2 separate regions of the Homo sapiens genome follow, and region 1 is linked to region 2. The links are contacts of gene promoters, found by promoter capture Hi-C in blood cells and fetal thymus (Javierre and others, 2016). All regions are on one chromosome and are shown on one strand. Each heading gives the region's core, a stretch centred on a gene start or on the middle of the fragment in contact. The rest is flanking DNA. Distances are from core to core; before and after follow the strand shown.

Region 1 (4,402 bases), core at 1,774-4,273, 210 kb after region 2:
TAGGAAGAATGAGAAATGTGGAAAACAGAAAAATCCAAATGATTTATAATTGATATTTTTGAAAAAGAGAACAAAGCATACGATAATGAATAAAATAATCTAAAATAAATACTTTCAAACATAAAATAAATAAAATAAAATAAATACTTGACTCCAGATCTAATGGACACACCCACCTTTTTTTTTTTTTTTTTTTTTTTTTTTTTTTTTTTTTTTTGAGATGGCCTCACTCTGTTGCGCAGGCTGGAGTGCAGTGGCACAATCATGGTTCACTGCAGCATTGACCTCCCTGGGCTCAGGTGATCCTCTCACCTCAGCCTCCAAGTAGCTGGGACTACAGGTGTGCACTACCATGCCTGGCTAATTTTTATTTTATTTATTTATTTTTTTTAAGACCGAGTCTCACTCTGTTGCCCTAATTGGAGTGCAGTGGCGCCATATCGGCTCACTGCAACCTCCGCCTGCTGGGTTCAAGCGATTCTCCTGCCTCAGCTTCCCAAGTAGCTGGGATTATAGGCACAAGCCACCACGTCCAGCTAATTTTTTATTTTTAGTAGAGATGGGGTTTCACCACGTTGGCCAGGCTGGTCTCAAACTCCTGACCTCAGGTAATCCGCCCGCCTCGGCCTCCCAAAGTGCTGGGATTACAGGATTAAGCCACCACGCCCAGCTAATATTTTTTTGTAGAGACAGGGTTTCCTCATGTTGCCCAGACTGGTCTCGAACTCCAGGCTCAAGTGCGCCACTGACCTTGGCCTCTCAAAGTGCTGGGATTACAGGTGTGAGCCACTGTTCCCAGCCAGGCACATCATGTTCTAAGAAAAGAAAATGATCCAGACTTATCAAAGCCAGGACATATTCTGATAAAGTTATTGCGTTAAGGAAAAATAGCTAGACTTCCATTTCTATCGATTATTTTTCTTTTCTTTCTTTTTTTCTTTTGTTTGTTTGGTTTTTTTTTTTATTTTCAACAGGGGCTTCTGCAATAGAATCTATCTGGTTAAAACATGACAGTGATACTTTTTTTATTTCACAGCTAAGTTCACATTAAAGTAAAGAAAACCCTTCTAGGCCCAAAGCGAAGGGGAAACTAAAAACCAATTAGGCGTGAGTTAATGCTACAGCTGTTCTTGGGAAGGGACGGTTTCTAATCTCAGAAAACAAGGGGCTTCAGTTTTCAAGGACCAATCGTGAAGAGATGGGTCCTTATAACTGCAAGTATCTGGGAATCCGAAAGCCACCTTACATGAAGCAAGGTGCCCCAAGTACCACTTTCTTGGTGAAAGAATGGGCTGAAAGAAAAAACCTCTCATGAGCAAAATGAGATTTCGAGGAAGCTTGTACGTCTTCGCCTGGGCTCTGGATGGAGAAAGTTTTCTTAGAGAAATTTTAACCTTGGGCCTGTCTTCATGCAGATTTGGGATTTTAGTTTACATGGCTGGAATGGTTCAGAAAACCCCAAAGCCAAGAAGTCAACATAAAAAGTAATACTAAACTGGTTTTGGCCTTGGGGCACTTGGGAAAAGCAAAACAAAATTACTTTGAAGACTTATACTCTTAAACCAGATTAACCAGGATTCCCCCAGCTAAAGCTGAGGTTGACATTTTTTAAATTAGATGAAATAGGCAGCTTTGCAGGAAAAAAAATTATATATATGTAAATTTTATATATATGTAAATTATTTATATGTAAAGCTGACCAACATTGACTAAGAAGGAGAAAATCTGAAGACCTATAATCATTAAAGAAATTGATTAGCAGTATAAATCTACCTAACAAAGATAAAATTGATGGTTTTCATAGACAAGTTTACCAAATAAGAAAAAAAATCCTTTTCCACGGTCTCCCTCTGATGCCAAGCCGAAGCTGGACTGTACTGCTGCCATCTCGGCTCACTGCAACCTCCCTGCCTGATTCTCCTGCCTCAGCCTGCCGAGTGCCTGCGATTGCAGGCGCGCGCCGCCACGCCTGACTGGTTTTTGTATTTTTTTGGTGGAGACGGGGTTTCGCTGTGTTGGCCGGGCTGGTCTCCAGCTCCTAACCGCGAGTGATCCGCCAGCCTCGGCCTCCCGAGGCGCCGGGATTGCAGACGGAGTCTCGTTCACTCAGTGCTCAATGGTGCCCAGGCTGGAATGCAGTGGCGTGATCTCGGCTCGCTACAACCACCTCCCAGCCGCCTGCCTTGGCCTCCCAAAGAGCCGAGATTGCAGCCTCTGCCCGGCCGCCACCCCGTCTGGGAAGTGAGGAGCGTCTCTGCCTGGCTGCCCATCGTCTGGGATGTGAGGAGCCCCTCTGCCTGGCTGCCCAGTCTGGAAAGTGAGGAGCGTCTCTGCCCGGCCGCCATCCCATCTAGGAAATGAGGAGCGTCTCTGCCCGGCCGCCCATCGTCTGAGATGTGGGAAGCGCCTCTGCCCCGCCGCCCCGTCTGGGATGTGATAAGCGCCTCTGCCCGGCCGCGACCCCGTCTGAGAAGTGAGGAGACCCTCTGCCTGGCAACCGCCCCGTCTGAGAAGTGAGGAGTCCCTCCGCCCGGCAGCCACCCCGTCTGAGAAGTGAGGAGCCCCTCCCTCCGTCAGCCACCCCGTCTGGGAAGTGAGGAGCGTCTCCACCCGGCAGCCACCCCCGTCCGGGAGGGAGGTGGGGGGGTCAGCCCTCCGCCCGGCCAGCCGCCCCGTCCGGGAGGTGCGGGGCGCCTCTGCCCAACCGCCCCTACTGGGAAGTGAGGAGCCCCTCTGCCCGGCCAGCTGCCCCGTCCGGGAGGGAGGTGGGGGGGGTCAGCCCCCCGCCCGGCCAGCCGCCCCGTCCGGGAGGTGAGGGGTGCCTCTGCCCGGCCGCCTCTACTGGGAAGTGAGGAGCCCCTCTGCCCGGCCACCACCCTGTCTGGGAGGTCTACCCAACAGCTCATTGAGAACCGGCCATGATGACAATGGCGGTTTTGTGGAATAGAAAGGGCGGAAAGGTGGGGAAAAGATTGAGAAATCGGATGGTTGCCGTGTCTGTGTAGAAAGTAGACATGGGAGACTTTTCATTTTGTTCTGTACTAAGAAAAATTCTTCTGCCTTGGGATCCTGTTGATCTGTGACCTTACCCCCAACCCTGTGCTCTCTGAAACATGTGCTGTGTCCACTCAGGGTTAAATGGATTAAGGGCGGTGCAAGATGTGCTTTGTTAAACAGATGCTTGAAGGCAGCATGCTCATTAAGAGTCAACACCACTCCCTAATCTTAAGTACCCAGGGACACAAACACTGCAGAAGGCCGCAGGGTCCTCTGCCTAGGAAAACCAGAGACCTTTGTTCACTTGTTTATCTGCTGACCTTACCTCCACTATTGTCCTATGGCCCTGCCAAATCCCCCTCTGCGAGAAACACCCAAGAATGATCAATTAAAAAATAAATAAATAAATAAATTTAAAAAAAAAAAAAACAAAAGTCAGCCAAAAAAAAAAAGAAAAAAAAATCATACAAACTTAAATTTCCAGAAAATAGAAAAAGGAAATACTGCCCATATGTGGCATATATAAAATAACCTTTATGGTAGAGACTGCTAATTGTCCTATTACCTATTCTCCCCTTGTCTTTCACAGCAAAAGAATCTTTGCTTTTAAGTTCAAATAAAGGCCACACTTCCCAGCCTTCCTTGCAGCTGAGTGTAGCCATATGACTAAGTTCTGGCCAAGAGAAGTAGAAATGGGGTATGCAAGTTTTGATTCATGCTCAAAAGTCAGAGACATGCCGTTTCTTCACCCTGCCACTTAGAAAGTACATGAGCTATTTGGACCATACGAACTAGGGGTGGTTAAGCAGAACCACCAAACCAGCCCTGGACCACCAACCTCCAGATAATACAGGACAGAAAAAAAAAACTTCCCTCTCATTCACGTCACCACTATTTTTGGTATCCGTTACATACAGCCAAACCCATGTACCAAGCAGATCATCCTACATACCAACACCAGAAATGTATCGTATGAGAAAGGAAAATTGAGACCCAATCTCACTTATGATTATAGATGCAAAATCCTAAATAAACTGTTAGCAAATGGAATCAAGTATTATACTTAAGAAAAATTATGACTAAGTTGGGTTTATGTCATGATTGCAGGGATGACTTTAACATTAGAAAATACATTAATGTAAGTCTCCACATTAAGAGATTAAAAATTAAAACCATATGATGATGCCAGAATAAATTCAATACCCATTTATAATAATAACGCTTAATAATCTAGGAATAGAAAGGAACATCTTGACCAACAAGCAAAAACCTACTGCAATCTTATTTTTTTTTTTTTAGTGGGGTTTCACCACGTTGCCCTCACTGGTCTCAAACTCCTGAGCTCAAAGGATCCACCTACCTCGGCCTCCCAAAGTGCTGGAATTACAGGCATGAGCCACCACAC
Region 2 (4,553 bases), core at 290-2,789:
AGCCAACACTGTGTTGGAGAATCCAGTGTAACAAAACAGAGAACACAATGGTCATGAACCACCCTGGAATTAACAAGGCTTGACCTGGAAGGTACTCTTCTGCTCACTCATTCAACCCCTCCCGTGCCCTGCCTCTCTCCATTTTACATATGAGGAAACAGACTCAGAGAGAGGAACTGAGTAGAGCCTTAAGTGAGTTATTGAGAGAGGGAAGCAAAGGACCTCTCCCACAGCAGCGGGGAGAGCATCCTTTGGGAGCTCAAACTGGGGCCAACCCCACCCCAGTCCTTGTCCCACCATCCTCTGCCAGGCCTTGCCACTCCCCTCAGTGCAGGGTCATGGGCAAGTTTGCAGTGAGAGGGGCATCACCTACCTTGATGGTGTTTGCAAGCTCCTTTGTAAGCAGCTGCTTCAGCTCACCCTTAGAGAGGGTGTCAAAATGCCCCTTCCGAACTGAGTATTGGTGGAAGATATTGACAATTCCCTCCAGATGCTCTTCAAGTTTTGTCATCTTCCCAGCCTAATGTTAACCTTCAAGGAAACAAGGGAAGTCTAGAGGCAGTTTCTCCCCCACCCCTCAACCTCCACTCTCCCCTCTCTTTCTGAATCAAGGGCCTAAAGAAAACATAACATCCTCCATATCTATTTTGTGGTCTCTGCTCTGTTTGATCCATGGTGAACTTCTCATGTGTGGATAGGATGGGGAGGAGAAAACATATAATACTGTCTAACGTCTAAAAAAATCAGCCTCAGTTGCCCATGTTCCATACCACCTCATCCACCGGGGTGCATAACTTGGAGGGTATTGCTTACTCAAGGTCCCTTGGGAAGGGTTCTGTGATTGGCCAGGCTGTTTGCTTTCCTCAGGTGATGGCACTATGGCCACATATCCCCCACAAATGGTCCATAACCCACCCCTGCTTAGCCATTCTTTTTTTGTTGTTGTTGTTTTGGGTTTTTTGTTTGTTTGTTTGTTTGTTTTTGAGACGGAGTCTCACTCTGCCGCCCAGGCTGGAGTGCAGTAGGGCGATCTCGGCTCACTGCAAGTTCTGCCTCCCGGGTTCACGCCATTCTCCTGCCCCAGCCTCCCGAGTAGCTGGGACTACAGGCACCCGCCACCACGCCCGGCTAATTTTTTGTATTTTTTTAGTAGAGACGGGGTTTCACCATGTTAGCCAGGATGGTCTCGATCTCCTCACCTCATGATCCGCCCGCCTCGGCCTCCCAAAGTGCTGGGATTACAGGCGTGAGCCACCGTACCCGGCCTGCTTAGCCATTCTTAAATCATGGGACTGAGTCTACATAGCACAACAAGAGCTGATCTACTTGGGTCCAAAATGCAATATCACCCCAGAGGTGCTCAGGCAAGTGGAGGGTTGTGGTTTCCAACACCTTGTGATTTCAAAGTGGTCACCTGCAGTCACTACCCTGTGGACCACCTAAGAACCCATCCAAGGAAAATGCACTTACCCCTCAATGCACAGGAATGTGGAGCTACAGCAAAAAGCCAGCAGTGGTGAAGGGCACTGAGCCAAGGAAGGTTTTATAATCAGTTCAGGCTTCATCTTAGCCCTTGGGTGAAGAAATCTCTGATTCATCTTGAGGCAATTTATGTAAAGTACTCTGTTGCTCAATAGAAGCTTCAAACCTGTGGCTTAGGCTGCCACAGGAGCAGCCCAGATTGTACCCAGACTGAATTTTGCCCTCCTGCTCAGCCTGAAACAAAATCACCCCCACTCCACCCACCCGCACAGGGGTGCCCTGAACCTTTTTTAGCCCTGAGCCAGGGCCCAGGTTTCAGGTTTAGCTCTACTCCACTGCTCCCTAATAAAAGACTAGGAGAACAAACTTTACAGCCTGAGTGTCTTGTTTTAACAGATGAGGTTACCAGCTCTTCAGTTTTGGCAAATGGAATATCAACTTAAAGATCTTTATGCAGCTAAGGAGATAGGTAGGGAGACCTCCTCCTAAGTCGTTCTGGGATGCAAAGTTCATCACTGGAGCAGAGGATCAGTTTTCAAAATAGATTCCAAGGTTTTCAAAAAAGGAGAGAGCAATGCTACTATGCCTCCCCTTTGCTTTCCCAACTTTCTAACTTGGCTGTTACAAAGACCTAGAAAGCTGGAGTAGGGTAATCATTGTGTGTGAAGAAAGTTCACCATGCCTAGGTTACTTTACCATGTTCATGAGTTCAGTAAGACAGAACATTCACACGAGTTTTAGTAAAGCAACTTTATTACTCACAGAGAGGCAGCAAGGGACAACAGATGCCCAGGATTCATGGAGAGGTGGTCCTTCAAGATTCAGAAACCTGCCCAAAATGGATTAAGTCTCATCTGTACATTCCCCATGTCGCACCAAAGCTAAGGGACATCCAAAAGCACTCTGCCCTTGGTTTATGCCTAGAGGTCAATAAGATTGCTGAGCAATCAAGGCCATGCCAGAACCTGTGCTGCCATCTACCCCACAACACAGATATCCCCCTTAGCAAAGCTAGTTCATTTCATGTGCCCACCGACCTCTCTGGATCTGGAGGCAAAAGTCTGTCTCTCCGATCCATGTGTCACCTTGACTGACACAATCTCAGTGCAACATTGTTAAGCCATTGACAGTATTTGTTTCACTAGGCCCAGGAGGACACCACCAGAGCAGGATGATCAGGCTTGTGTAAATCAATGACAATGACCAAGGTGAATCTCAATCATTTTAGGAGGTTTATTTGGCCAAAGTTAAGGATGCGTGCCCAGAGGTAGGTCTACGTCTTTCTCCAAAGATGATTTTGAGGGCTTCAATATTTGAAGGAGAAACAGTGGATATTGGGGGAAGAGGAAGAAATATTTTTTAAATGTGTCAGTAGATAAGAGACAAGTGATTGCATCCTTTTGAGTCTTTGATCAATCTTTCACTGAATACACAATTTTCATGTGGGAGCGGAGTAGAGGAAATAGTCACTTATGCCTTCATCTGGCTCAGTGAATCTGCATTTTTACATAAGATAACAAAAATAGGGGAGAGGAAGCAATCAGATATGGATTTGTCTTGGGTGAGCAGAGGGATGACTTTATGTTCTGCCCTTTGTCCCACACCTGTGAAGATAAGCTGTCAATTACACTGCCAGGGTGAAATTCAATAGAACTGTTTTAGGGTAAAGATCTTGAGGCTCACAAGGAATTTCCTTGTGGGCAAGTTGTGAGATTGGTGTATGGCTTTTTATCTTTGTAGCTATCTTATTTAGAAACCAACCTGGGTGGGGGCAGGCTTGCATGACCCATTTCCCAGCTTGACTTTTCCCTCTGGCTTAGTAAGTTTGGGATCCTGAGATGTTTTTTTTTTTTCACATCTGCCTGGAGAAGGGACTAGCCCAGGATCCCAGCCATCCAGGCAAGAGGTTGCTAAATGCGGATCACGAGGTCAGGAGATCGAGACCATCCTGGCTAAGATGGTGAAACCCCATCTCTACTAAAAATACAAAAAATTAGCCAGGCATGGTGGCAGGCACCTGTAGTCCCAGATACTCAGGAGGCTGAGGCAGGAGAATGGCGTGAACCCACAAGGCGGAGCTTGCAGTGAACCGAGATCGCGCCACTGCACTCCAGCCTGGGCAACAGAGTGAGACTCCCTCTCAAAAAAAAAAAATAGAAATCAAAAAAGCAGGAACACAGCCTCACATACAAATATTAACCTCCAATGTGAATGGCCTAAACACTGCACTTAAAACACATACCTTGGCAAATTCGATTTAAAAACAAGACCCATCCTTCTGCTGTCTTCAAGCACCTGTCTCATGTGTAATGACACCTGTAGATTCAAAGTAAAGGGATGGAGAAAGATCTATCATGCAAACAGAAAACAAAAAAGAGCAGAGGTTGCTATTCTTGAATCAGATCCGATAGACTGTAAGCCAACAACAGTAAAAAAGGATAAAGAAGGGCATTACATAGTGATAAAGGGTTCGATTTAACAAGAAAATTTAACCATCCTAAATAAATACACACCCAACACTGGAGCACCCAGATTTATAAAATAAGTACTTCTGCATCTAAGAAAAGATTTTGGCAGCCACACAATAATAGCAGGGGACAACACCCCACTGACATCAGTAGACAAATCATCAAGGCAGAAAACTAACAAAGAAATTATGGACTTAAATTTGACACTTGACCAATTAGACTTAATAGACATCTATAGAACAATGCACCCAACAACCACAGAATATATATTATTTTCATCTGCACATGGAACATACTCTAAGATCAACCACATGCTCAGTCATAAGGCAAATCTCAATAAATTCAAAAAAATCAAAATCATACCAAGAATCTTGGACCGCAGTGGAATAAAAATAGAAATCAATACCAAGAGGAACTCTCAAAACCACACAAATAAATGGAAACTAAACAACTTGTTCCTGACTTTTGGTTAAACAACAAAATTAAGGCAGAAATCAAAAAATTCTTTGAAACATACAAAAATAGAGACACAACACAACATATCAAAACATCTGGAATGTAGCAAAAGTAGTGTTAAGAGGGAATTTTTTTTTTCATCTTGGA

The links. Contacts are between HindIII fragments. The CHiCAGO score rates a contact against its expected background, and 5 or more counts as called.
Region 1: a fragment that was not itself captured here is called in contact with the fragment with the promoter of S100A12 in region 2 in 1 of 17 cell types (neutrophils); the score reaches 5.4 in neutrophils.

Annotation. Positions count from the first base shown.
Region 1 is chr1:153,580,505-153,584,906 of GRCh38, forward strand. No RefSeq gene overlaps it. Among named protein-coding and RNA genes, the nearest start is that of S100A2, 17 kb to the left of the region's middle. RefSeq lists an enhancer at 2,579-3,503. The HindIII fragment of the contact is 3,376 bases long and covers 1,336-4,402 here.
Region 2 is chr1:153,374,082-153,378,634 of GRCh38, forward strand. S100A12 (S100 calcium binding protein A12) reads right to left here and starts at 1,540. Exons shown (of 3, transcript NM_005621.2): 1 at 1,471-1,540; 2 at 374-531. The coding sequence starts at 511. The HindIII fragment of the contact is 5,829 bases long and covers 1-1,638 here.